7 separate regions of the Homo sapiens genome follow, and regions 2, 3, 4, 5, 6 and 7 are each linked to region 1. Evidence: promoter capture Hi-C in human tissues and cell types (Jung and others, 2019). All regions are on one chromosome and are shown on one strand. Each heading gives the region's core, a stretch centred on a gene start or on the middle of the fragment in contact. The rest is flanking DNA. Distances are from core to core; before and after follow the strand shown.

Evidence for each region. The method cuts DNA at HindIII sites, captures the fragments that hold promoters and counts their contacts. A contact is called where the count stands out against the background at its distance.
Region 2: a fragment that was not itself captured here is called in contact with the fragment with the promoter of DSEL in region 1 in 1 of the 25 tissues and cell types used here (mesenchymal stem cells).
Region 3: a contact is called between a fragment that was not itself captured here and the fragment with the promoter of DSEL in region 1, in 1 of the 25 tissues and cell types used here (dorsolateral prefrontal cortex).
Region 4: a fragment that was not itself captured here is called in contact with the fragment with the promoter of DSEL in region 1 in 2 of the 25 tissues and cell types used here (IMR-90 fibroblasts and lymphoblastoid cells).
Region 5: a fragment that was not itself captured here is called in contact with the fragment with the promoter of DSEL in region 1 in 1 of the 25 tissues and cell types used here (hippocampus).
Region 6: a contact is called between a fragment that was not itself captured here and the fragment with the promoter of DSEL in region 1, in 3 of the 25 tissues and cell types used here (heart right ventricle, mesenchymal stem cells and mesendoderm cells).
Region 7: a fragment that was not itself captured here is called in contact with the fragment with the promoter of DSEL in region 1 in 4 of the 25 tissues and cell types used here (H1 embryonic stem cells, lymphoblastoid cells, mesenchymal stem cells and 1 more).

What each region holds. Positions count from the first base shown.
Region 1 is chr18:67,514,840-67,519,036 of GRCh38, reverse strand. DSEL (dermatan sulfate epimerase like) reads left to right here and starts at 2,317. Exons shown (of 2, transcript NM_032160.3): 1 at 2,317-2,676; 2 at 3,545-4,197. DSEL-AS1 (DSEL antisense RNA 1) reads right to left here and starts at 2,491. Exons shown (of 5, transcript NR_033921.1): 1 at 2,288-2,491. The HindIII fragment of the contact is 11,831 bases long and covers 1-4,197 here.
Region 2 is chr18:68,493,868-68,498,064 of GRCh38, reverse strand. No RefSeq gene overlaps it. Among named protein-coding and RNA genes, the nearest start is that of TMX3, 220 kb to the left of the region's middle. The HindIII fragment of the contact is 3,382 bases long and covers 417-3,798 here.
Region 3 is chr18:68,466,323-68,470,519 of GRCh38, reverse strand. No RefSeq gene overlaps it. Among named protein-coding and RNA genes, the nearest start is that of LINC01912, 200 kb to the right of the region's middle. The HindIII fragment of the contact is 3,476 bases long and covers 598-4,073 here.
Region 4 is chr18:68,449,567-68,453,763 of GRCh38, reverse strand. No RefSeq gene overlaps it. Among named protein-coding and RNA genes, the nearest start is that of LINC01912, 190 kb to the right of the region's middle. The HindIII fragment of the contact is 8,525 bases long and covers 1-4,197 here.
Region 5 is chr18:68,426,208-68,430,404 of GRCh38, reverse strand. No RefSeq gene overlaps it. Among named protein-coding and RNA genes, the nearest start is that of LINC01912, 160 kb to the right of the region's middle. The HindIII fragment of the contact is 4,712 bases long and covers 1-4,197 here.
Region 6 is chr18:68,359,725-68,363,921 of GRCh38, reverse strand. No RefSeq gene overlaps it. Among named protein-coding and RNA genes, the nearest start is that of LINC01912, 97 kb to the right of the region's middle. The HindIII fragment of the contact is 4,045 bases long and covers 1-3,850 here.
Region 7 is chr18:68,275,603-68,279,799 of GRCh38, reverse strand. No RefSeq gene overlaps it. Among named protein-coding and RNA genes, the nearest start is that of LINC01912, 13 kb to the right of the region's middle. The HindIII fragment of the contact is 3,395 bases long and covers 297-3,691 here.

The DNA.
Region 1 (4,197 bases), core at 1,068-3,567:
TCTTGTTTTATTTTAATGCATTCACATTTTACCACTATGCAAAGATGTCTGTTCAAAATGAATTAGTCTGAAAGCCCATCTGAGAATGCTGGGAGGCTAGCTGCATCCCCACTGCTTCAGCACAGATGCATGGGGCAGAGCTGAAAGGCCACAATGTCGGTACCTGAATTCATTCTTCTCTAAAGTGAAAATGATCATACTGATATTTCAAAATCTGAAAACAACATTGGAAGAATATTTGCCTGGCAGATGTTCGCGCATTAATTCTCTCTGACTCACCTTGCCCTCGCATCATGAGACACTTTGAATCCATAGAAATAACCCTGCCCCACACTTTGTTCTGAGAAATGTTCTGTACATCTAGTAGCTGTGTTTACTAACCCTAAATTCTAGGCTCCCCTCTGCAAACAGATAGGAATCTCTGGAGTCAGCTCCCCGTTTCCCCCAACTCTACTCTCTCATAAATGTGGTTGGAGGCCATGGGTCCTCTTCCTCTATCAGGGGCCATGTAGAGGCACAATCCAGATTTTACAGGAAGTTGTGTCAGAAGAGGATCCTTGTTTGGGAATAAACCTCAGTGGAGGAGACGAGGCTCTGTATCAGCCCAATTGTTCGAGGTTCAACTCATTTCAAAAGCAGATATAGTACTTACAAAGGGGACTTGAGTGCTACTCATGACTTGAAGGAGTTTTGAATAGGGTACAGGAGTCAACCAGTTGAAATAGAAAGCAGAAAATAAACAACCTAAACGGCCGAATATAGGTACAAATGATATAGTTCTGGAGTAATACATTCTGGCTAGGGAAACTTAGGAGTTATTTACAGAAGAATGTAAGCATCTGAGTTGAGACCTGGATGATCAGATAATTTCAACAGTCAGAAGAATTTTAACTAGTAAGTGGGGTGGTTGGGTAAAGGACACTGTGAGGGAAAGAATGGAATAAGCATAGTTACTGAAGCACCCAAGCAAAAGCAAGTGTGGCTATTTGGACTGGGCTAGGGGTTACTACGGGGCCAAAACAGAAGAGTGATGAGGAGTTAGAGGCCACATTTCACCTCAAAGTTAAATGATTTGAAATTTATTCTGCTAGCAGTCGTCTACTGTTTGATTTTCAGCAGCAAATGATCTAAGCAAGACATTTATTTTTAAAATGTTAAAATATATCTTATTAAATATTACCAAAATAGTATGGGAAATGAAGAGACTGAATGTGTTACTAATCCCCAACTGAGAATGGAATTGTTCATTTGTGAAGCTTGATATTTCCCTGTATTTTTATTACTACTAAGCTATTATTTTTTACATTTGAGGTCAGAGCTTGGGTTGGTTTATGCCAAAGTGTCATCTCAGCTATCTGTGAGAAGCTCCATGTGTGGAGTGCAACAGGAGTCCCAGCCTGCTCTAGGATTTCCACGACCTGGCACTGCACTCACATGTCGTAGTAGCCGGGGCACACTGCCTTCTCCTGTCTGCATGTAGGTCTTTACCGAATACCAGGTCCCATTTTTAAATAAGAGGCTCCTTCTACTTGTTTGTCCCATGCTTCCCCTATTTATACTGCCTGAGAAATTGTTTTCCATCAGTAAAGCTGATTAGTCTTTTCTGTTTTCCCTTGATCTTTGTTAGCATCTGGGCTACAGAAGTTGTCCTCCTATATTAATCTGGGTATTTCGGTTTTGCTTTTCCAAAGGACAGCAAGCTCAGCCAGGCTGCCTCTCAGTTCCAAGGGAGTGCTCATTCCCTCCTTCCCCAGCCCTTGCTCTTTCCAAAAGGATGATTTCTGTCGTCCCAGGGCTTATCCCCTCCCACTCCAGCTCCTCCCATCATTTGAGTCAATCCCACAGCCCCCACTATGGCTCTATTATATAGTTGTCGTCTTCCCATAACCAAAAGGTTTTAACGCCAGCCTGGCAGCGTCTTTAGACTCTCGCACTCCCAAACTGTCCCCTCCTCCAGCTCGACTCCTCCGGGAGCGCGCGGCCACCGCTGCAAGCCCAGAACACAAACGCCTAGAGCTTCCTCCGCTTAGAAACCCGGGGCGCTTGGCCCCGCCTCACCTGCTTTCGGCCCCGCCCCGCCCGCCGCCGGCCTGCTCACGGCTCCTCCCGTCCTCCCCGAAGCCCCGCCTCTGACCCCGCCCTGTCCTGTCTCCGTCCCGCCCCACGCCCGCCAGCCAGCGTCGCTGTCTCTCGCCTTCCCTGAGGCCCCGCCTTCAGCCCCGCCTTCAACCCCGCCCCGTCCTGCCTCCGCCCCGCCCCCGCTTGCCGGCCCGCGTCGCCGTCTCACCCTCCCCGGGCTGCGCGGCCGGAGCTGGCACAGAGGATCCTCGGCCGCGGCGACATCACCGCCTGGGCACGCGGGCGCTGCTCTGGATACGGCGCCACCGAGAGAACCCGCCGCCCGCGGGTCTCTGTCCTGCGGTCCGTGGTTGCCCCCACAAGCGTCCGGCGTTTCCTGAGGGCGGGCGTGTCCGGGCCGTGCGGGTCGCGGGGACCGAGCGCGGCTGAGGAGACCGAGCTGGGGCAGCGCCTGCCGTAGCGCGGGAGACGACGCGGGGGTCTTGCGGAGCCCCGCGGGAGCCTGGCCCGCCGTGCAGAGCAGTTTTCTGGAACTCTCCACCTCCGTCTCCCTTGGGGCCCAGTGCGGCGCCGAGCCCCCGTCGGGATCTGCCTGAGGTAAGCGGACTTGGTGGCTCAGGGGTCTCTCGCCATCCTGCCTCACTCAGCCCCAGAGCGGGGAGCGGAGAATGGGGGCGGCAGGGTCGGAGGACGCCAGTGAAAAAATGCAACAGGCGGGGCGGATCAGGAAACTCCTAGCCTGAATGTTTCCTACAGAGGGGAGACTTGTCCAAGACTGAAACTTGCTTAGGTTCTTCCAGCCGCGGACGGGCACGGAGAGGCGTCTTTCGACACCGGGGTCCGAGCTCCCTCTGGCGGCTCCACCTGAGGACAGGGACTCGGCCACAGGTGAGCGCCGAGCGCGGAGCTCCCGCCCCTCGGCTTGGCGCCTGGTCACGATTCGCGGTTACCCCGCCGAGAAAAGTGACTGGTCCGAGTAGTTCTCATTAGGAAGATACCTTCTGATCCCATGAACTCTAAACCTTCCCCCGGAATTAAAAAAAAAAAAAAAAAAAAAGATCTTTTCAACTTTCAGTTTTTTGTCCCTCGGTCCTTGGGAACAAGAAATAACAAGGATAGCAGGACTCATCTTTGTGTAAACTGCATTTGAATACAAACATTTTTTAAGTGACTGAAGCCACGTTAGTGGCGTTAAACTATAGATATTGTCGGGAGAGTTCTATCTTGTATATTTTGTATTGTTAGTTGCTTGTCTTCTGCTGACGGTCACTGGTTTCCAAATAAGTGCGTGTAAATGGATAAGAAAAAAATCACTTGCCCTAGCTTAGGTTGCAGATAATATGAGATTTTACTGTGATTCTAAAATTTCTATTAAGTGATTGCAGAATGTTTAAGTCATCAGTTTATATTCATTCTCAGCATACCTGAAGCCTCAGAGAATTTTTATTTTGTCCCCCATCCCCAGAAAAGTGTCATGAAAAAAGAGCAGAAGAGAGACCTCACTGTTGCTGAAAGGGGAATTTTCTTTCCCCGTTGGCGGTTACTTCATGATCGGACGAGAAGTATCTAGGTGACTGAAGATATTCCATTTTTATGTTTGTACACATGAAGCTGATAAAAGAAGATGTGAACATGATTTCTCTTTGTCATAATAGGCTGATGAGTAAGTAAGCCTGAAAAATATTTGAAATGAAGGCAAGAATTTTGAATTTTTAAAAACCAACTAAGACTTTGATCACTTGTTGAGGATGTTTCTCTCTCATAAATGAAAGAAAAACGTATTCACAAGACAAGAAGTATAAAAAGTTGAGAGGAATGACAACTGAGTCCACTCACTCGAAGAATGTCAGTACTTCATCATCTTCTTTGGGCAAACATACACAAATGCATCATACATGTGTGGTGAGCTTATCACCAGTGATGGTTTTCTGTGCTAGAAATGACTCTTAATTTGAATTTTGGAGTGCTTTTTCTCTTTTTTTACAATGTGTGTTCCAACTCTTTGTGTTAAATAGATTTAAGTAAAGGAGGTAAATGCTAAATTCATAGTGTTTTTTACCTGTATCACTTCCCTGTGTATTATGGAAAAATTAGAGATTTTAACGTTATTCAAAGTTT
Region 2 (4,197 bases), core at 858-3,357, 980 kb before region 1:
TACAGAGGCTGAGAGACAGTGGAACTATCATTCTTGATGATTGCATTTTAAAGAGGTGACTCTCAGGTCCTTGTGCAAGACATTCCTGAATTTGAACACTGAAGAGGCCAGGGGAAGATTTTCATCTCCAAGGGGCAGAGAAAGGGTTTGCAATGGCAAGTTTTCTAAAGTAACTGGTGCAATAATAAGGAGGTCAGGGGCCTATAGTCAGGAAGAAACCTCCTTAAAGTTTAGTCAAGCTGAGAGGGATGTTAAGGCCACCTTGGTCCCTGCCACGTTGGTTAGTTCTATCAGCTTAGGCTGGATAGCCTGGTAGTTGTGAAAGCAGAGAGAAGTGAATGTCAGCAACGAGACTAAGTATCTAACAAGGTAAAGCAAATCCTGGCACTGATATCTAGCAATGTTAATAGCAAGGACGCCTTTCACATAAACTTATAGAAACAAAGGAAAGGGACTCGTCTTTCTCTTTAAAAATGAATATTTGAATTAAAGGAGAAAAACCACTGAGATTGTTAACAGCTGAAGTTACACAGAATTTCAAAGGCAAGAGACATTCTCAAAATCCAAAATCTGCAGCTGACTATGCAGCAGGCATTCTCTGACTCTCAAAAAAGTTTACATTCATTATTCATTCATCTGTTTTTTTCACTACTCTAAGGAATTTATTTTTAATAATCACACATCAGATATTATGTTTAAATGTATTAATGAATGATGGAAGTAACAAGATGTTGTAATAAGTTCAAATGACAATTCAATTCACTCATATACTGGGAGGAAAAAAAAAGCTAAAATGAATTTACAAATAGATGCAACCCTGTTCAATATCCACAGAGTGATAATGAACAGCATTTTGTCGGACAAAATTTATTTGCATTATAAGGGCAAGTTTGCGTAATTAATAGTTTTCCACAAATTACAGGTTAGTTAAGTAGCTCAAAGACAGTTAAAGGAGTGGGTCCCTATAGCATCAAGTATGCTAGACAAGGCACACAGTATCTTTTTTACCCCTAATGTTTCACAATTTTTGCTGATAGGGCTGCTCTCTAAGTAATATACAGTGAAATTTATGTTAAAAGCATTGTTAAGGTCATGAGCAGTGGCTCACACCTGTAATCCCAGCACTTTGGGAGACCAAGGCCTATGGATCACTCGAGGTCAGGAGTTCATGACCAGTCCGGCCAATGTGGTGAAACCCCGTCTCTACTAAACTTACAAAAATAAAAAATAAATAAAAAAATTAGCTAGGCGTGGTTGTGTATGCTTGTAGTCCCAGCACTTGGGAGGCTGAGGCATGAGAATCACTTGAACCCAGAAGGTGAAGGTTGCAGTGAGCCAAGATTGCATCGCTACATTCCAGCCTGGGCAACAGAGCGAGATTCCATCTCAACAACAACAACAAGAAAAAAAAAAAAAAAAGAGAGAAATGAAATTGAAAAACCCTGTACAGGAGGGAGGAAAATCATCCCAATCCTAAGCTAATAGTTATTACACATAACAAGTAAGACACATAAAACATGGTAGGCATATAGTTCTCCTTACTAATAAAAGTAGTTTCCTTGCTAATATCAACACAAAACAGACTTCATACGTGTGCTATTTATTTTGTGCTTTGCCACATACCCTGAGCATCTTTGCAAACAGCATCAAAACTTCTTTGTTGCCTTATCTCTGCCATTCTTTGGTTTAGGTGTTGCCTGTATTTAAGCTTTCCCTACATAAACCATTCCCTTATCCCTCCCACACCTTCCCACCCTGGTCTTCTTTATAATGCTATATTTTCTTGGAATATTCTATTTTTAATTTGTTATACAGGCACTGAAATGTTATCCTTACTGGTTACTTATCTTTACATTTTAAGCCATTATTGTGATAAGCTAGTATTTGATTTGCCATTGCCGCAAATTCAAACCAGAAAAACAATTTTTTTCTGTAGAGTATGTTCCATTGGGTTTGGATAAAGAAGTTTTCTAATTCTGTATAGATGAAGTTTCTTGAATAGCTCTTATATTTACATTTTTAAAAGACTTTCAGTGTAGATGAAAGAATAATTACAGTAGAGCATTTTCATATACACTTGACAATAAATACCTATTTTTTATTAACACTAACCTTGGTATCTCTTTTGGTGATTTAGCAAAGGACTCAAAGCTTGATTGTGGGATAAGGAAAGTGTATCTTAAATGCTTCTCAGGGTTACTTAACAAAGGGCACACAAACTAGTGAGTGAATATGTTTTTGTTAAAATAAGTACAATTTTTAGAGCACAATGACACAAGATAACTATATCTTTCTAAAAGTTTCTTTTTTGCTCTAATTGCCGCTATTTTCTTTTATCTTTATTTTTCTCCTTAAAAATCATTTTTTTAAAATAAAATAATAATACATGTTTATTTTAGCAACTTAAGCAATGAAGAAAAATGTCCCTTTTTAAATCATTAGGCATGCTTGGAAATGCCAATAATAGAAAAACCTACTGCAAAGATTTGAATGTCTTTCTTTCCAAAATTCACGTGTTGCAAACTTAATCCCCAATGCAACTGTGTTGGAAAGTGGGGTGTTTGGGGAGGTGTTTAAGTCGTGAGGGCTGTGCTCTCATGAATGTATTAATAGTGCTAGGAAGATGGCTGGTAGGAGTATGTTTGCCCTCTCTTTTGCTTCTCTAACATGTGAGGACACAATGTTCATCTTTTCCTTGCCCTCACACCTTCTGTCATGTGAGAATGCAGTGAGGAGATCCACACCAGATGCTGGGAGCTTGATCTTGGCTTCCCAGCTTCCAGAAGAGTGAGAGAATAAATTTCTGTTCTTTAAAAATTTCCCAGTCTCAGATGTTCTGTTAGAGTAGCACAAAATGAACTAAGACTTCTACTAATAGTGACCAATAGGAATTTATTTTCCTCCTATACCCAGAAGCCTTCTGGTAAGCAGTGGGCAGCCTTGATCATAGCTGTAGTGCAGAGGTGATTCCTTAGGCATTTTTTATGGCTATGATGTAATTGCTGAAGTTCCAAGAATCATATTTCAGTGTAGGGCAGAAAAGGAGGAGGAAAAGCAGAGCCAGCTGTTTCTGTCTCTTTCATCCTGAAGCCAAAAGATTTCTTGGAATTCCTCTAGCTGACTTTCCCTTTGCCTCATTGACTAGAACTTGATTACGTGGACATAGCCAACTGCAGGCCAGGCTTGGTAAGTTACTTTTGATTTTGCAGCCAGTACATTGGAAGGAAGGGAAATGGAGGGTGGGGGAGTGAGGAATGGCTTTTGGGAGGCCTTCCATTCTTTCTTTCAGTCCTGCTTCTCTGGTAGTAACCCTTTGATGTGTAGCCCTCTGCATATATATTTATATATACGTGCACACACACAGACACACGTGTGCTGCTATGCACATATATATATTATAAATTATTTATTTAATTTTTTTTTTTTTTTTTTTGAGATGGAGTCTCAATCTGTAGCCTAGGCTGAATTGCAGTGGTGCGATCTCGGCTCACTGTAACCTCCATCTATGGGGCTCAAGAGATTCTCGTGCCTCAGCCTCCCGAGTAGCTGGAACTACAGGTGTGGGCCACCACGCCTAGGTAATTTTTAGTATTTTAGTAGAGACAGGGTTTCACCATGTTGCCCAGGATGGTCTCAAACTCCTGAGCTCAAGCAATCTGCCTGCCTCACTCTCCCAAAGTGCTGGGATTACAGGTGTGAGCCATCATACACTGCCTACATTTTATTAATAACAAAATAGGATAAATTCTGACACAGTATTCTACTTTTTTCTGTACATATTGCCTTCTCTATAAAATGTGAATAAAAATCTTTGTATGTACATATGATATATATTAACAAATATATTGTATATGTAGTATAATATATGATTATGCATGTAAAAAATTCCCATCTGTCTCTGTGTGTATGTATAATATATATGCATGCACATATATGTGGAACAGCAAATAATTTTATGTATGTGTTTTATATGTGTATATATGTATTTGTGTATATATAGTACATATATATACCTTATTAGATTCATCTGTAAGTGCATTTTATTTCCGTAAGAGAGATTCAGTACAGTTATATTTTTGCATTGATAGACATAAACATCATTGCTTTTAAAAGATACTAAAAATGTTGTAGCAAGTTTACCTCCACCAGCAAATTGTGCTACTTTCTATTTCTCCATACTTTGTACAGCATTGGAGA
Region 3 (4,197 bases), core at 1,086-3,585, 950 kb before region 1:
TAGTTTAGCATTGATTGAAGACGCAAAATCTCCTCCAGCATCGATGACTAAAATAAGAAAGTCCCACACTCATCGTGGCTGGTTTTTCTTTCTTTTTTCTTTTCTTTTTTTGTTAACCCAAGTAAATTACTTAATGCACAAAGTATCTTTACAAACCTTGCATTTTCTAAGCAATATTTATAATAAATGATAGAATGCTGTTCTAAAATGAAAATAATTGCTAGTATTTATTGATCATGTGGTGTGCTAGGTAGAGATGTTGTTACGTGAGTTCCACATATTAGCCCACTTATTTCCTACAGTCACCCTCTAAGTTAAGGACTTTTTACTCATTTTATAATGGTTAAATGTTAATGTGGAAGACACACGATCGCATTGTGAGTCTACAGGAGTCAGGTGGATACATGAACCCAGGCAACCTTGCTCTGGAGTCTGTGTTCTGCTCCCACATTTTCTCTGCAGGAGCCCAGGCTGAAAATTTCTACTTAGAAAAATCCTATTATCAAGGTCCTCTGTCAAAAGTTCTCACTTATTATCTTTCTTTTTATATCCAGTACTTCACACACACAGAAATTACTTAATGTCTGCTTTTAGCTTTTGGCCTGGCTGGTCCGATGATGCAACTTTAGAATTACTGAGAAGCCTTATGTGTGTCCAGTTTTTAAAATTAAATTTCCTTTAAAGCTAATAGCCTTTTCTTTTCTTCTCTTCTCTTCTCTTCTCTTCTCTTCTCTTCTCTTCTCTTCTCTTCTCTTCTCCTCTCTTCTCCTCTCTTCTCTTTTCTTTCTTTCTTTCTTTCTTTCTTTCTTTCTTTCTTTCTTTCTTTCTTTCTTTCTTTCTTCTTTCTTCTTTCTTTCATTCTTTCTCTTTTTCTTTTTCTTTTTCTTCAGAGGAGGAGTCAGTTCTGGCCCATGCTGATTCTTCAGTTAATTCTCATTAAAGTGAACAAGAAGTTGTTACTACAATAGTTTCTTCTCTGGTCCCACAGCTGTTTCCTTCCCTGTTGCTCTTAGACATTGCTCTCCTGTCTTACCTGCTTTATCTTTGCATTATTAACATATCCTATAGAAAGCCCTGTTCCCTTTGCTTCCATAGCTCAGGACGTTTTTGTTCATGACCTCCATGGGGAATTTTCTGCCTTTTTGAATCCAAGAGGCAGCACTGACTGTCAATCAATGGCTATTGACATGCTGCTTTCTTAAGGGACCAAAAAAAAAAAATCACTTTTAACAGAATACAAATTTGGAAGACAATTATGCATAACTACCTTTTCTCTGTACTTCTAAACCGACAGTAATGGCATTTTAAAAGTGGATTCCTGCAGAGTGACTGCTTACAAAGAATGAACCATAGACAATGAAATGACAGACCATCAGGAGAGATATTCTTGGGCAGTCAGCCTCTTTGGTGTCCCTGAAACCATGCTATATGGATGCTCTTTTTTTTTTTTTTTTTAGCAGACTTTGATAGAATACCTGTGAATAAAATATTTCAGATTTTTCAAAAAAGCCTGCCAGTTCTATAGGAACCTCTATTTAAACCAAAAATATATTGTATTATGACATTTTAACTTTGTATCTAAGCTAACAAAGGAAAAGGGATACAAGTGGGATTTAATATACTTAGCATAGGTTGCCTGATTTTTTGTTCTTAATACTGAAAGGAAAAATTTTTATTTGTGAAATCTTCAAACCAGATGAATAATCCATAGAGACATGATTTAATTTCTATTAATTAATGTTTTAAATGGGGCCCAGAATGTTGTAGTCTTAACTTCATGGAAGAAAAGTTTTAGTAAAATACAACACTACTCATCTGGATGATAAGATCTGTTTTTAATTCAAAAGCCAATTAATACTTCATGTTTTTGAAATTGTTTTATGTCTGAAAACATGTATTTTTTAACATAAATTGTAACTTCATTCATAGTTTTAACATGACTCACCTATATTCTTTTTAAAAGAGTCTTTGAATGACATTCATGGTGTCAAATTGTATGAAAAAATTTGTATGAATATGAACTGTCTGGATAAAAGGTTCATAGCTTTGAAAAGATTCTGAATGAAACCTATGAACTAAAAGCTAAGAACTAGTAAGCTTGATGAAGAATTCCTAAATCTTTATTTACAGTTCATTCCAATATTTGGTTTCTTTCCCCTCCACCAACTCTGAACTACATATTCTCGGGCTTTGTCTTAATATGATTTCATTACAATAAAAATAAATCTAATTGAGCCATATTGAGAAAGGGCATCCATTATAAAGAATCAGGAGATTTCACAGAACTCACAGACAGGAAGTACAGCCGTGCTTTGAGAGAGACTGGCACTCGAAACTGCTTAAGCCATCAGATAGGAAGGTGTGCTTTCATTTTCCTCACCACTGCATGTCTGCTCTCAATGCGTTTCTATTTTGCCCCACCCTCCATGTGTTAATTCATCTACTTCAGCATGAATGAGGTTCACTTCTCAGAATCAATGGCAAATATCTTTATGGGCCATTGTCCTGCATCAATAGCTCATTAACTTGACTTTCTAAGTATCAATTCTCAATTTCCAGGAGAGAGAACAAGACTAGTTTAACAGATGTTCACCACTAGATCCAGGTTGTAGGGTTACATGGTGTTTGCTCATGGGGCTGTGAGGCTAAGACTCACTCTGAAAGACATCTTTAGCACAGTCTAATTGTCATATTGATAACATTAATAGGGTAGGATTAAACCTGTAGTAAATATAGGAAATTAGAATCTAGTCAGAAGACTTTGAGATCCATCACATTCAATGCGAGTCGTTGAACAGAATCAAATTTCTATCTCATATAAAATCAAAGTGAATTATCACCATTATGAAGTAAAGACTCAAGAATCTCTGCAGAATTTTTTTAATCTAACATGTATTTTATTATTTGCTGGGTGACACGCACTAATGTAGGCCCTGTCAATAGATCAGTAAATGTGACATGTAGACTAAAATACAGAATTTTAATGACTTGCTCAGAGTGTAGCAGAGAGTAATACAACTACAGCAAGAACAAAACATGCTGCCCTAAGTGTTGCCCACTTCATCATTGGTGACATTTTCTACTTATTAAACAGACACTATACACTGCAATCCTGGGGGATATCACAATCATTGTTTGTAATTTACGGAAATCAAGAATAATTATCACCTTCCTCAAATAATATTGTGGTGTATTTAAATCATATTAGTAGGGGAATACTAAACATCTACTTCTGAACAAGAGAGTGTAAAGGGAACCTGCCATAAACAACTAGATCAGGGGAAAAATATATAGGAAATAACTATTTTCAAACATTGTACAAAAGGGAGCACAAGACTGTAGTCTCTGATAAAAAGGAAATAAATTAGATTAACCCTATAATTACTTCAGTTTTCGATCTGGAGTCACTTTCTGGATTGTAGTGTAGGGATAGGGGACTATTCAGAAAACAATATTCTCAGTCAACTAACATAACAGAAATGAGAACAGTGGGAGGTGAAGAAAGTCATCCTGGAAAAGAAAACTATGCAGAGAGAGCAGTCCAGAAGTCTTCATGCTGTTCCCTGAGTGTTTGGCTGAGTACTCAGCTGTACCACATGTAAGGTGAAACCCCATAAGTTGCCTATGAACTCAACAATTCCCCTAGCTCATGCAAAATTGGAAATGCGTGAGTTCTGATGAGTCAAGCCAGGGAGACCATGTTGAATATATGGGAGCATTAATGGGGATCATGCCTTCATAGTACAGCTAATCTAGCCCAGAGCTAGGCTTACTCTAGATCCAACATAAAATGCTTAAAACAAGACACAAAAGGATCAGCTAATCTACATACTATTTAGCTGACTGCCAAAACAAAACTCAAAAATTTCTTAAGGAGGATAACAAACTCCAGAATCTTAACATGATATTCAGAGTGTTCAGTACGCAATCAAATGTTACTAAATATGCACAGAAACAGGAAAATATTATTTCTAATGAGAAATAAAATCAGTTAATAGAAAAATACCTGAAATTCTCTACTAAAAATACAAAAAATTAGTGGGCATGGTGGCACACTCCCGAGTAGTCCCAGCTACTCAGGAGGCTGAGACAGGAGAATCACTTAAACCTGGGAGGAGGAGGTTGCAGTGAGCCAAGATGGCACCACTGCACTCCAGCCTGGGCAACAGAGTGAGACTCCATCACAAAAAAAAAAAA
Region 4 (4,197 bases), core at 1,135-3,634, 930 kb before region 1:
GGCCTAACATTCTTAGCAGTATAGCAAAACTGTCTAACTCTAACTTGACTTTAGGCTCGTTAACTGGATTAAAGATGGATGTGGTCTTGTTGGTATTGCTCAGTTTCTAGTATTTTATTTTATTTTATTTATTTTATTTTATTTTATTTTATTTATTTTATTTTATTTTATTTTATTTTTTATTTTATTTTATTATTTTATTTTATTTTATTTTATTTTATTTTATTTTAATTTTATTTTAATTTTATTTTATTATTTTTTGAGATGGAGTCTTGCTCTGTCGCCCAGGCTGGAGTGCAATGGCGCGATCTCGGCTCACTGCAAGCTCCGCCTCCCGGGTTCACGCCATTCTCTTGCCTCAGCCTGCCGAGTAGCTGGGACTACAGGCGCCCGCCACCACGCACAGCTAATTTTTTGTACTTTTAGTAGAGACGGGGCTTCACTGTGTTAGCCAGGATGGTCTCAATCTCCTGACCTCCTGATCCGCCTGCCTCCGCCTCCCAAAGTGGTGGGATTACAGGCGTGAGCCACCATACCCGGCCAGTTTCTAGTATTTTAAAGGAATTTTGCTTATAATTTGACATTATTCCTGAGACTATGTTTATACTGTAAAACAGGTTTAAAATGTTAACTTCACATTAGGTCCTTGTATTAACTTCCTATGGTTGCCATAAAAAAAAGCCAAAAACAGAGTATCTTAAATAGCGGAATGTTTGTCCTACAATTCTAGAAGAGAGAAATTAAAAATCAAAGTGTTAGCAGGGCCCTGCTTCCTCTGAAGTCACTAGGGAAGGATTGCTTTCATGCCACTCTACTAGCTTATGATAGTTGGCTGGCATTCTGTGGCATTCCTTGGCTTATGGCAACATAACTCCAATTTTCACAGTGTGTTTCTTGAGTGTGTGTCTTTATCCAAATTTCTTTGTTTATGAGGCTATCCCTCATATCGGATTTGTAGTCTACTCTTCCATAGTATGACCTTATTTTAACTACATCTCTTATACAATCGCACTATTTCCAAACAAGGTCACATTCTAAGGTTCTGGGGATTAGAACTTCAACATGAATTTTGGGGAAACACAATTCAACTGATTAATCTTCATTTGAAGCCAGTTTATAATGGGACATACTTATATTTGTCAAGAATTCAAATTCTTAAGAGTTGTGAAAAACAGAAAGTCTACTGCAATTTTTTTTTGTCAATGTAAACCAAAAAAAAGAGTTAAGAAGTAGTAAAAGACAATAAGCAATTACTATGTTAAATCAAAAGTTGGAATCTATAGATTTGTTTTCAATTTCAGGCTTTTCATTGATGGAATACAAAGAAAATAATAAAACTTCTCTCTCTTTGCCAGAGAAGCTTTTTATGAAGAAGTTTGAATTTCAGATTTTTTATTTTATTCATGTTTTAAGCTAAGAATGTTTATGCTTTGAAAATGATTGTTTTTCCCTCTTCATTATAAACTAAAATTGTCATTCTTGTTCAACACAGACCTCTGTGCTGGAGAGATACGAGGTGTATTCTACTTCTATGGTTCAAAGGGTATTTACAGCTTTTCAGTGTCTACATAATACTATACAGTAGCACAACAAAAAATGGCATAGATTTAATTTAAAGGGAGAACATAAGTGTTTCATTTAAGAATACTTCTGTTATACACTGTTCAGAATTTAAAGAAAATGAAGGAAACATTGTAGAGGAGGGAAATTCTATTTTGAATAAAAATTATGCCAAAAGTAATAAAAATTTTGCCTTGTATCTCTTGATTTTAAATATATGTATTTGATTGGAAAGAAAAGAGGTGGCTTTTATTTTACATAAAATGTTTCTAATGCTTTAAAGACCAGGTTTTTAAAATATGATTTTATAAAGTTAAATTAGCATAATTTCATTTTGTTTTATTTTGTTGTTGTATATTGATGGAGGGGGCGGGAATTTAAGAAAATAATGGCAAGGACATATTTTGGATAGCTAACATAAAACCAGACAAATATATTCTTATATAGGTAACTTAACCAACATTTATGAGCCCCTACATGGGCAAGTCATTGTGTTGAAGTCTATGATCATTGCTGTAAACTGTGGGTTGCAATCTAGGTGGGGGCTATACAATTTATAAATAAACAACTACAATACAGGGCTGCATTTAAAATATACAAGGAGAATATTAAATTTCCACAAGTTTGGGGATATCAAGATTTTTTTTTTTATCTGAGGAGATCAGAGAAATCCTCATGGCCATTGCTCTTAGTGGGATTTATAGGCTGGGTAAAATTTTAGTAAGTAATGATGAAGAGATAACATTTCGAAGGACTAAACAGCATCAACTATAGTCTAGAAATGAAAAAGGGAAAGGGCTGAGAATGTCAAGAAATATAATTTTCTCTAAAGGTCAGAAATTGATGACAAGACTCAAAAGAATAGAGGGTGAGATAAAGGTTACAAAGGGTGGGGTAGCATGTTTAGATTATATTTTTTAGCATGACACAGAAGATGCTTCTCATACAAGGGTGACGTGTCAATTAATTTTAAAGATTATTTTGTTGGCACTTCACATGACACATGGGATTGAAGGGGTGAAACTTTGTTGCTTCAGTCAGTACCCTGAGCGTGGAATTAAAAACTTTAATTTGGTTGATGGTAATAAAAAAAGAAAAGAGGGACAATGGGTTCTTCTTTTGAACATATATGATTTAACTTGGCCAAACTCATTTATTTATTCAAATATATCATATGGACTTAGCTAATTAGCATATCATGCATTAATACAACTTGTATTACAAAGTTCTGTACCTCAAGGAATTTCTGAAGTTACTTATTCAGATAATTTATCTAACTGGTGATGTTCCTGATTGTGGAGGACATGAGAATGTGCCGCATAAACTTCTGATTACAAGGAGCATAAATGATGAAGAACAACAATTGCCATGCTTCTAATATCTAAGCTCACATTGTGACAAAGTTATGCTTCCGAGGAGCTACTTCCAGCCAGTGACTGTGCACTATGTATTTACAGAAGGCAGACCTGTTCCTGGTAGACAAGTGCATTCTCCAATGGTCAACTGTGCTGCAAGAATTCCCTGGTGGTTTTGAACTGTCTGTACACTACACTTCACAGCAGCCTGGAATACTCAACACCCAACTTCTTTTCCATTCTTGTTCTCTCAGGTTTAGACTTGGGTCACGATCTGACAGGTTTCCTAGCCTTAGCCAGTGCCTTCTCTATTTGATCATACAAAGACATTTTCCTTAATAAAATCATTGTATATTTAGTCTTTTCTTGGCATTGGTTTCTCAGTGGACCTAGATGAATGTGAGGGTACTAGAAGTCGTTTAGCAAAATATGAGGTAAAATTAGATTTGGATCTGGCTCTTATATTACATAGTAGGGAAATAAGGCACTGTCTTGGTTGCTAGGTGGGGCACATATTGTTTTTGGCACAAGTCGGCAGCTCAATTGCTAATGATATCACTGGAGGTGTTCTAAGAAAATGTCTTGATGTAGGCAGATGCTATGGCAGGTATGACACAGACATTTGAAAAATATGGGGAAGCAGTGCTTATACAGACATATACTGATAGAGAAATTGGCTGGTGAACAAGTTGTACTGATACCTTGCAGAAGGATAATGAGAGACTAAGAGCCTGTTAACAAGTGCTCAATGGCTAAGGCTGAGAGCTAGAGAGCCTCTGTGCTAGCATAGAAAGAGGCCCTTATTAGCTGTAGCTGAAGATGGAGACAGAGTTAAATGGAAGGCTGAAGGCCTAATTATGAGAACCGTATAGCACAAAACATTTTTAAATAAGAAAGCAACATAAGTCTGATGTTAAAAGTTCAGGCCTCTAGTAGGAAAAATCTGGAATCCTTTAAACTGGAATAAGATGCCCCTGAGGATACTGACTCTACTGCCTTGACTCCATGAAACTTCACCTTCCCCAGAAAAGGTTAGCGCATCCATTGTGTTTGAAGATACTGGAGAAGCCTCTACCTTAAGATGACAGAAGCCTCCTGGCTGCCAGGCAGATAATTAGTTAGACTCTAGCATAACCCTGTTGGGCACATGTTGGACCTAATAAGTGAAGAAAAGGTTGATATACATGAAGAGTTTCAAAAGTTTTTTGCATGTACCAGATGGAGTCTGAGGAGAGCCCTGGGAAGAGAAGTCTGAGAGTGTTTGACCAAGGAGGTCAGATGA
Region 5 (4,197 bases), core at 980-3,479, 910 kb before region 1:
AGGAAATAATGCCCTTGTAAGGAGAAACTAAATTATAATCATTTTTATCTTTACTATGATTTTACTCATTTCTGTCACACGTAATGCACATTACAAAATGACGCATTGTTTTTGTGCTGGATATATAAATTGACAGATTGAAAAATGGGATCACAAAGATTTTCAACTGTTACACTCCATCTTTTAACATTTTCTTTTCAACATCTTCTCTCTTTCTCACAGCTAATTCATATATTGATTTCTTGGGTCATATATGGCAAATATCCAGCTTGAGATGTAAAATAATTAGATAATTTAAATAGACTGGGGAGTCTGCCCTCAGGCAGATTCTGAAGCTACAGAGTTTTTCTATTATTACTCTTACATCCCATGTTTCAGGACTTTTCTCATTCACTCGCCTATTATTTTTGTTCAGTACAAATGACTCATTATGAGGAAAGAGGAAGTTTTAACGTATTTAGAAATGTGCTGTATAGTTATGGCATTTTTTTAGGCCATTAGGAAAAAAATGGGCAGAATAAAATTAATGTTAGGTGGTTATTCCCTCTGTGCCCTGTCCTCCCTCCCTTGTTTTCTCCATTACATCTTCGTCGTTATATATCTCTCTATTCAAACTCTCTTGTGCACTTGCCAGGCAGCAGGTGTTTCTCAGGCACTGGGGCTAGAGTTCCTCACATTGCTGCCACTGAGGCAGAGGATACACTTTACCCCACCACCCCACACTGCCAGCAGCACCATCATCACCACAGGGCATGCAGGCATATACCCATGTGCATGAGCACACACACATACACACGCGTGTGTGCATGTGCACACACTTTAATTTTCAGTATTTCAGATAACTGGATTATTAGTAGATGATGCTCTGCCAATTTTCACAAATATTGATTTACTGACACAGCAACATCACCTGATCTTCTTAGTAAAAGTAGTGATATGGTTTGGCTGGGTCCCCACCCAAATCTCATCTTGAATTGTAGTTCTTATAACCCCCAAGTGTCACGGGAGGGACGCTGTGAGAAGTGATTGAATCATGGGCGCATTTCCGTCATGCTATTCTTGTGATGGTGAGTCTCACAAGATCTGATGATTTTATAAGCATCTGTCACTTTCCCTGCTGGCACTCATTCTCTCTCCTGCTGCCCTGTGAGGAGGTGTCTTCCACCATGACTCTAAGTTTCCTGAGGCTTCCCCAGCAATGTGGAACTATGAGCCAATTAAAAACCTCTTTTCTTTGTAAATTACCCAGTCTCCAGTGTTTCTTCATAGCAGCGTGAGAACGGACTTGTACAAATAGATTGTGATGCCCTATCCACATTTACTAAATAAGAGAGTTTCTGGAATTAAAGCCTGAAAACTTCTTTTTCACAAGCTTCCCAAGAAATTACTGGTCACAGTCAGATATGGTAAATTATTCTTTATTTTTTTGAGACAGGGCCTTGCTCTGTCAATCTGGCTGGAGTGCAGTGGTGTGATTATAGCTCACTTTAACCTCAAACTCCTGGGCTTAAGTGATCCACCCGCCTTGGCCTCCCTAAGTGCTGAATTACAGGCATGAGCCATCGTATCCAGCATAAATTATTCTTAAACTGTGAAATTTGCTGCTCTTACTATGGATGTCAAAATTCACTTGCAGTCTTCCTCATAAAATAAACATGTCCAAGATAAATTATTAATAACTGCTAATGGTTTAGTGTTGCTATAAGGATAATTTGCATTTGAAAAAGGCACTTAAGGCCAAATGTCTTACACTAACAGAACAAATATACAATGTGAATTGTCAGAACTAAAATGTGCTAATAAAGAACAATATTTTTGGGAAACCAGCATCGCTGGTATGCCTTATAACCCACCATCGGATGATGACAGCCTCCTATTTATAAGGGAGAATTATATTTTAAGGAGAAAAGTAAAACATACATACATATACACACAGCATACATGCGCATGTGTGGTATGTAGAAATCAATTTTTAATTACTAAAGTTGTGATGTACAATGGAAGAAAGAAAATGTTTGAACAAGCCCATTAAAATGAAGTGGTTGAGTCACTGCAGAAATGAATTAACATGAGGTTGTGACTCATCTGCTGTCTCACTTTTCTGGTGGGGCAGCTGCTTACCATTAATGACCAGCAACAGTGAGGAGGGATCCATCTGCCCTGTTCTGGCACGAGGGAATGCACCACCTGTTAAATTTATAACTACAGCTTCCACAAATGAACATGAAAATGAAGCCTTCAGATTGGAAATAATGTGTAGCTTTTATGTAAAAACACCAAGATATTCAAACGTCTGTTTGTTCTCTCCACTTAGTGTTTTGAGTTACTTGAAAAAACAGTGCTAACTGTGAGATGAGTATCTTTGACACAATGCAAATTGTTAACCCAAATGTTCCATATTCATAAACTGGTTTCAGATTCATTGGAAACTAACTATCCCTGCTCCTATCCTGAAAAACGCTTGTGTGAAAAACAATGCACTTTTGTAAATCTGTGAGTGTCAATCTGATGTAACTGTTCTAGTCCCAGAGAAGTAATAGAATTCAATAAATACAAATAAGAAAATTGTTCTAACATTTTGAGATCATAATTTTCTCTGAATATTCAAGTTTATGCCATACAAAAATACCGGATTCTTACTGTTTTTCTTTTGCTTACCCTAATTAATGTTCTTTTCAGTGAGTAAATGTCTCATTTTTTCCTTTCCATATTTCCGTTTCTATAACTTTGATCATATTATCTTCTCACTTATCTTTACCTTACACCATTAGGCGTGTTGGCAAAGTCATAGTCAACCTCCAATCCCTGGCTAACCTCATGCCTCTTCTGTGATGAGATCCCAGAGCAATCTAGCTCAAGGGTGTTCCTAGTTCTTCTAAATATTAATATTAGAGGCTTCATTTTTTTCTGAATAAATTTGAATTTTTGAGTAAAATGATATAAACTTGGGAAATGATTTAAATGTTTATCAAATGCTCCTCAGTTTTCTATATAATGCAAAACTATTTTTTGTTTATTAAAGACCTAAAATTTAATTAATATGCATTGTATTAAAGTAAAAAGTAATTTATTACTCACAACAAAGCAAGAAGCATGAGCATCTGCATATTTGCCAGTTTCCTTTGTTTCCAAGAAGTGCCCAGATAAATGCTTGAACACATTCTACAGGAGAGGATTCCTGAGCTTATGGAACCCAAGTCTTTCAAAACCGGGAGTCAGCAGGCCTGATCTTTGCCACAGACAGACAACTTATTCATTATTCTAAACAGCATACATGGCTGCTCTTTGCTCCAGAACAAAGGTCAATTAGTACCTGTGCATTCAAGATATGCAGAAATGAGAGAGATCTACAGAGAATTATCTGACAACAATTTTCTCGACATTCTCCTGGTTTCTGAAGAATTTTCTCATATGTATGCTATTATATTAGTCACTCAGATGAATATGACCAACAAAAACTGAAACCACATCTGTTCAATTCAACTCAAACAGCTTTTACTTAAGACTACGACCACTATCAACACAATCCCAGATATCAGGATGAAGCCATCTGGCAGTATTGACCGCTGCTATTCCTGTAGGATCCCAGAGGCTCAACTGCAGAAATCTCATTGGAGTCTATCCTAGAAATGCCGGTAGTTTTCTCCTAAAATTTCTCTATTGATATTTCTCCTTAAACTTTCATATTAATAATTCTACTTGGCCTGAAATATAAACCAGGTGCGGTAGGAAGTATTAGAGATTGCATAAGACAATTCTACCATCCATAACCTCCCTGACCTGTGACTTGAGGATAGTCTGGTAGCCTTCCATTGTCAAGGTGGCGTAATTCATTACGTTAGATAATGTCAGAAATACCTGTATTCATACTCTTTTTAATTAGAGGACTCCCATGTAAGAATAAGTTCTCACAGTGTAAGCACAAATTATAGTCATATACAAGTAAGTGAAACATCTAAATATCCTCCATGCGTATGCAAAGTTAGTCTCATTTTTGAGATCTGCACAATCATATTAGATGTACATGATCTATTGGTCGTGTTTTCTTAAACACTTGAAGATCTTTATTGCTACCCTTAGAGTGCAAGTCACATGTTTTTGGGAGGGAGGAAAGGTAGTAACTGGCTTCCACACAGTAAATATTCTTGGGGGTGCACATGATATCCCTGGGGAAAAATGGCTATCTATTATTGTTGG
Region 6 (4,197 bases), core at 579-3,078, 850 kb before region 1:
ACTTGTTTTCTGTCACTTAAAAAGCTCAAGGTCCTCCCAAGAACCTCTAAATTTTAGAAATCACAGGGAAAATCCTGTTTTTTTCTATTTCTAAATATTTACATTTTTTCTATGTGCTTTCATACATTTTCATGGCCTTAAGCATCTGCTAAATGCTCATAATATACAAACAAAACAAAATCATAGCCCAGACCTTTCTACTGAATTTCTAGCCTATATATCCAACTACCTACTTGGGTTATCTTAGGACGTCTTGTAACTTTCAAAAAATATTATACATAACATGTCTTCAACCCCTTTCCATACATATTCCTCTACCTCTGCTGATCCATCCTTCATCTCTCATCCATTTTTCTTAGTAAATGGTACTTTCCTCTATCCATTTGCCCAGAATTGCTCAAAAATGGAAATCATATTTTAATTTTCTATAATTTTCCCTTACACATATTGGAATGGTCACAAAGCTTATTAGACAGAAGCTGTAAAATATACATTAAATTCATTATCCACTCATTCAGCCAATATTTTAAGCACCACGTACCAGACACTGGATTAGGCAGCAAAATATACAATGGTGAACAAAAGACACAGGATCACTGCCCTCATGGACTATTTATTACAATGGCAGAAGCAGAAAAATAGTTCATAAACTAATATAATATTTCTATAACCTAATATTGACACAGGATTTTTCTAGGTCATTTTGCGAACACAGGACCTCAAAGACCAGCAACATTGTCCCTCCTGGGCCTCGTTTGGCCACTGGAGGTGCCCCACCCACTCGACCTGCCTGTGCTACAGCTTGTAGCTGAGTTCAGCCTCACTTGGCCCTGGGCTGCCACTGGAGGTGCCCCACCCACTTGACCTGCCTGTGCTACAGCTTGTACCCACGTTCAGTGGTTCCCAGACTCCTGTCCTGCATCCAAGAAGAATGAGGATACACTGACAATTGAAGGATGAGGATGGGCGGAGAAGAATTTTATTGAGCAATAGAACAGTTCTCAGTGGAGAGGGGATGCAGGAGGTGGTTCTCCACTCCCACCATCAGGTGGTTTCTCTCCCAGCATGGCTGAGTTCAGGGCTTTTAAGGGCTTAGAATAGGGGGGTGTGTGCTGATTGGTGGTGAGTATGCAAAGAAAGGCTAAAGCAAAGGCATCACTCAAAGGTGGGCACAGCAGTGTAGAAAACCAACTAGGAAAGGGTAGGAATATGTAAAATAGGTGAAGAGTAGGGATCAGAGGAAAGTACACCAAATGGGAAGACAATCTCCACTGGTCTGTGGATTTACCTGGGACTTTTAGCCAGGCTTTAAACTGCCTTCTGCTTGAAGTTGGGGTTTCACGTGGGACCTGACCCTATCTGCCTAGGCATTTGCCTGGCTCCTGCTGCTATCAATTCCTTCCTATGAAGTGGTACATCTAACTGCCATTGGGATAAGGATCATGACCGATCTTAACTACTTTTTGCTGACAGGGTACACTGTTTTGGGAAGACAGCAGTCAGATCTCCCTTGGAGGCCTATCTAAGGGTCCTTGGTAGAAGAGAGCGATCATCCAATGTTCTGGTTGCATGACCATTTGAATTTGATGGACTGAAGGCTAGAAGAGACAAACTGAGTAATTAAAAAACATGGATTGACATGGAACAAGGGGTAAGGACAGTTCAAAAATCCTGAGGATGCCAGCATGCCCAGTTACCTGCTAAGACTTGGGTGCCTGGAGCTTTGCTTTGGTCAGCTTGTTTGGTCTTATTTTCCCAAACATAGTAATCTCCAGGTTATGGGTTTACCCTCATCACCTGGCAGAATTTGCAAGATAATTGCCCAGAATTAGAATATTAATCCAGATTTTTACATTAGACATCCCTTTTGTTCCTTCTGAGCTGCAGCCAGAAATCCCTGGTTGGTTCACAGGTATAAGCAAGTTCAGTCTAAAATGCAGACAAAAGCTTAAAAAATGCTAATGAGACTAGATTTTAATGACACATTTATGATAAATTTTGAAATGTAATTTTTCTCTCTCCAGTATTCATTTTTCTTAAAGACAAATCATAATAGGTCTGAGTTGTTTGCAAAATAAACTTTAGTCTTATCCTTGACCTGATTATTTGCATAAAGAGCATCAAGAATCATTATTTTCACACAGGCTTTTAAAAAATTGGCTTTGCTGGAACACCACTGGAATCTCAGATAAAATTTTTTAAAGCCCAGCCCGGCCATGGGTTTGTACCCTCAAATACCTATGAGTTGGATACATTTCTTTTTTCTTGAGGATCCAAGAGAACTTGGGGCACCTGGGCCCGTGAGAAAGTTACAATCTTTACTTATCACCTGTTAGGAAATCTGTACAGGGACTGTGTAGACAAGGTATGATGCCAGTTTTCCCAAGGGGCTTTTATTGGCTTGAGAAGTGAAGCTTGGTTCCTGAAAGGGAAGCACACCCTTCCAGCATTCCAGTGAAAGCTTTGGTAAAACCACTAGTTTCTTCAATTGTATCTTGCTGCTGCAAAAAAATAAATAAATAAATAAAAATAGATTCTTATTGCAAGTATGCAAATAATTATATTGCCATAATTTAAGAATACTCACATATAGCTTCCAAATTTTGGAGAAACCAGGCAGAGAGAAACAAATATGCTCCAAATCTTGTTCACAGAAGTATACCTTACTCAATTGTTAAAAGCTGTAATGAACTCAATATAAAGGTTTTCCTCACGTTGAAAAACAAAGGATCAACAATGTTTAAAGCAAAAAGTTAAAAAGGATTACTTTAGTTTTCTGTAAGTTCAGTCCATTCTGTTATCTCTTGTTCTGCTTGATATTCATGAACATTTTAGCTCTTCATTTGTCCTGTACGTTTTTCCTCTATTCCAATGTCACAATCTCCAAAGTTATCAGAAACGTGTGTTTGAGAGTACCTGTCAAAGACCTATAGCTGTTTATAAACCATTTCTATGAGGATCAAAGCAAGACAACAATTGTGTGTGAATGACAAAATGTCCAGGGTAGTTACAGTTAAAAACATGATTGACAAAAAGATTTGGTTATTTCTGTGGTTTACAATAACTTACCATAATAACCTTAATTATGATTGAGAGCATATATTCAGACATTAGAATTTTAGAAATCTCATACAATTTTAGTACATATATTAATATTATTCACTAAAATATGAACTCAGAAAGATTAAACCTTGTTTTCATCTTGGCAATCCCATGTAATTAAACATGTCAAATAATCCTGTTTGCCTCTGTTTTGTATGCTCTAGGGCACTTTGTGGCATCCAAAAGTTAGGGGTCGGAAAAGACAATTTTTGAAGCTGAAATTTTATTTTAGGAAGACTGTTAAATTTGTTAAGAGGCTTAAAACACTTGATATTGTGAAATAGAATTCCAGATTACTGCAAATCATTTATTTAGCCAAAATGATGACTCAAAACTTTTTAAAAAGGCAAAAAATCTTCACTCATTAAGAGGGAAGACTTAGCTTTCCTAACAATCTGTCTCTTTTTTCAGTAGTTTATTCACAAAGAAAACAAAAATCTTTCATTTGCCTTTATTATTACATAAAAAAATTATTCAAGGGAGAGAAACCAAATTTCACCCTTGCGTTAGTCCACCATTAATAGCAATCCAATTTTTAAAAATAGGATTTTTAAAATAGGCAATTCTATCCAATCTTAACCAGTTTGACCATGAGGTGAGATTCTTATAAAACTTCACAAATTTTGTTACAGAGCAGACTAATTCCTTAAAAAAACCTTATTGTGCTTTTATTCCAATGTTCAATTTACAGAAAAACCACATAATAACCATTTGAATTCAGTTAATGTGCTCACACCCAGAATTTCTTTTACAAGTTTTTTACAAACCTTCTACAACTTGTTGAAACCTTTAGCTTTATCTTATTTAATTTTAAACAGTCCTTTAACTCTCTAAACTAGGCAAAAGTTTACATTCCCATGCCTTCTTATAATCTTTTACTAAAAACACATTTTACTTTCCTTACATACCTTGCATGTAAATCTTTTTTCAGTGGTCTCAATTGCATGTTATAGTGGTAACTCTTAGCAATTTTTAATTTTGATGTAAACCTGGTAAGTTATTGTAATTATTTACTGAATGCAGATAAGGTCTGACTCTTCCAGCATAGTTAGGTTAACCCCATATGTCACCAGGTCTTACCAAGCTGCAAAGCAA
Region 7 (4,197 bases), core at 745-3,244, 760 kb before region 1:
TTCTTTTTCCATTTGCATGTTTTCTGTGTCTGGGGTCTGAGATAAGTATAAATTAAGAAACTGAAATGACACCAAGCTTGAAGATTAACTGCTGGGATATAAAGTAATCAGTATGCAAAAATCAACTGGGCTGAATGAAATATATTTTCAACCTTCAAGGGTATTGTTTTGTTATCATAACCCTAGGACAATGAAAATGTGCAATATTAAAAGGATTTGTACTGCATAATTAATGAAAACCTTGGATACCAATTGAAAAAAAAAATGTCGGAATGCTTACCAGTGAATGGACCTAAAATTAGAGAGCCTCTCCACCTGGCCCTTAAGGGAAAGTTGAAGACAAATGTGAACTCGAGTATTATAACAGTGCCATTGGCGGTTCCCCACTGGATAGAGTTTACTAGTATCTTGTCTTGGGTAATTTTTTTTTATTTGCAGATTTAAATAAAGATACTAGCAAAACCCTGACTGAGCCTTTGTTTCCTCTTCCTCCCCCTTCCTCCAACATATCAAAGCTTAAGAACCCAGCACACCCAAGAAACAGAATGCAAGACACCCAAGAAATGGGGAGATTTTTGACAAAGCCTTAATTTGGAGCTGAGAGGCCATGAGTTTTATTCTTTAATAACCCTATAGAATTTGATGAAAAAGAACACCTCTCTAGACACACCTTGCACATAGACACAGGGGAACAGGTACCTATCCGATCTTTCCATTTGCACCCTAAGCAGATCTCAAATCCACAGCCTTGACTCTCTGGTACTGGAGCTGAGTATTTTCCACTTTGATGCCCTTAAATCAATCCTCAATAGGGTACTACAAGGATGTATCAATTCAAAATATTAAGACTTTTCCTCTTTATTGGCTTATAAAACCTAAGTTCCTTGACAGTATAAAAAAGGTCCTTATAATCTTTCCCTATACTGTCTCCAATGCCATCTTTTCAAGCTATTTCTTGCATGATTTTTTCAACACCATTTCAGCTTCTCTTTCCTTCCACATCTTCATGTAGTCCCCTGTCCTCAAATGAACCTCCTAATGTTCCAATTCTATTAATACTATGTTAACTCCACTCTTTATGACTCTTCAGGCATTGCTTTCTTTAAGAAGATTTTTTGCCCTCTAGGTCAAACATCCCTTTTCTGCACCCTCATAATGCCACATTTTTTTTTCATTCAGTTGTCACTTTATTGCAAGACGGTAGAATTAATTACAAATTTAAACTATAACCTGTTAATCTTTAGTCAGGCAGCAAGTTTTTATAAAGGCAAACTGCTTATTCAGAAGTGATCATGGAACAACTCAAAGGCAGAGCAAGAAGGATGAGAAACATCTGACTGGCCGATAGAGATTTCGTTCTCTCACTATATGAAACAAACTTTTCATTTTTAGGAAGGGTAAACTATAACTTCAGTAGACACCAACACAGAAAGACGTTGTCAAATAGACTAGTTTCCATTTAGTCAGTCAACTGTTTCTAGCTGTCTCAATTGGGATAGATACATTTACATAATTGGCTGTGCTTGAGCCTTCTTTGCCAGCAGCTTTAGGTCCGCAAAGGAATATATGTGATTAGCGCAGAGACCTTCACTGCCCTATCAGTACTAGGTGTAATGGTCTATGGAATTAAAAAATATGGTCCCTTTGTTGCAGACTTTGCTGATAAACTCAATGAGCAAAACCTTGCCCAACTAGAAGAGGCGAAGCAGGCTTCCATCCAACAAATCCAGAATGCAATTGATATGGAGAAGTCACAACAGGCACTGGTTCAGAAGCGCCATTACCTTTTTGATGTGCAAAGGAATAACATTGCTATGGCTTTGGAAGTTACTTACCGGGAACGACTGTATAGAGTATATAAGGAAGTAAAGAATCGCCTGGACTATCATATATCTGTGCAGAACATGATGTGTTGAAAGGAACAAGAACACGTGATAAATTGGGTGGAGAAGCACGTGGTGCAGAGCATCTCCACACAGCAGGAAAAGGAGACAATTGCCACATTTTTAAAGTAACTTTGTTATTGAAGTATACCTTGCAGACAGAATAAGACAAAAACAAAAACTACTAAGTGCGTAGCTTTAATCCATGCAACCAGCACTTGGGATGAGAAATAAGACATTAGCAGCACTGTAGAAGCTTGCCTCATGCCAGCTTCCGTTTACAACTCCACCCAAAGGCAACTACTGTCTTTAATTCTAGCACCATGAGTTAGTTTCATCTGTTTTTGAATAAGAAAATATGTAAAAGCTTGTGTGTTGAGCACAAGTTCTTTTTAAACAAGGATCACGTTTTTGTGTATTTAGCTAAGTGATGAATATATGATAGGTGAATGAACATATTCAATTTTCCTTCCCAAAGACAGACACATTTTCTGTTTGAATAAATTAATTTATTTAGAATACTGCAAAATATATTGATATGTAGCAATAGGAAGGCTTACAGTTGCATGCAACCCTTCTAAGAATAGATTTTCTAGGTTCTTTATGCTACATTCTTCATGTTTCTAAAATGTATTTTACATAGCCCTTCCTCCAGTGTCAAGTCATTTACCTGGACATTTTCATGAAGTGTTTTATTTGTTGCAGGAAAAAATACATGACATAAACAAAATAGTAATGGGTAGCTCTAAATGTACTGATTTAAATGGTATTTGAAAAATAATGGATTAAGAGTTTTAATGTCATCTTCCCTATAAAACTGAAAAGAAATTTAAATAGAAAGCATGATTTATGTTTGAATCAGATTAAATAGAAAGCATGATTTATGTCTGAAGAACTATTGTGAATCTGAGAATGAACCTTAATTTCAAGAAAACAAATTAGCCTGCCACAATTTTATGGAGGCTGACAGAAGACATGAGACTCTTGACCACACACAAATGACTTTATTATTCACAGGAATAACAATAACCAAGGTATCAGCATTTTGGGGGCTGTTTTCCTAAGTTCTAATTACCACAGTGTGACAAGAGGGCCTGTTAGCTAGGCATGGTGGGCTCATGCCAGTAATCCTAGCACTTCAAGAGGCCAAGTCAGGAGGATTGCTTGAGCCCATGAGTTCAAATCAGGTTGGCTAACAACCTCATCTCTACAAAATAAAAAATAAGAAAAAAAATATCTGGGCGTGGTAATGTGCACCTGTTCTCCCAGCTACTTGGGAGGTTGAGGTGGAAGGATCACTTGAACCCGGTGGGTGGAGATTGCAGTGAGCCATGATCACACTGCTGCACTTCAGCCTGGGTGACAGAATGAGATCCTATCTCAAAACAATGAAAAAAATTGAATTTAAATTAAAAAACAAAGATGGCCTTTGAAACCTGCAAATATAATGGATTACATTGCAGAAGAATCCTGAGTGTAAAGAGCCCAAGACTTTTATGATGGACAGTCAGCATGAACTTTGCTCTAGAGGAAGACACTGGCTCTATCTTCCATTGGTTCTCAGCAAACCTGCACTTCGTGGTAGCAGGAACCACTATCTCTATCTTCCAAGTATTAACATCCTAGAAAAGACAGTTTGGAACAGAGGCAGTCAATGTCTCTGTTTACCAGACATGTAGAAATGCAAGAACTCAACTGATCCTTGTTCCTCCCAATATATCTATCCCTAGTTTATACACTGCTTTGGATTCTGGTGAATTTTCCCATGAAAAACACCACTGTCAGTCACTCTGATTAACCTGCCTGAAACAGCTAAACCCAGATATGTTCATTGTGTCTTAGTAAAATGTATTAAGGTTATTATCAACACAATGCCAAGCAGCAGAATGAGGCTAACCAAGGGTACTGATTTTAACCATGACCTCCTGGGCCCTGGACCCAGACAGCTGAACAAATCCCTCTAACAACTGTAGTATACCTTAGAAAATCAAATGGCTTTCTCAGCTTTCTGAATTGGCCTTTCTGTTTTGCCTGAGGATTTAATGCATGCATAGCAGGATGTATTAGTCATTGCACAACTCCTCCATGTCCCATAAGAAGAAGTCTAGGGAAATTCTATCCTCCATAACAACACTGGCCAGTGAGTTGAGGCTGTGTGGTTTGCCTTTCAGAGGTGATGTCATTACTACTGCAGATAGAACCAGGAACCTAACCGGTACCACCATTTCTAATTTGGTGATTCCCATTGTAGGGATAACTGTGCACAGGGTATGTTGTCCCTGTGTGTAACTCCCCACAGTAACCAAAAGGAGTG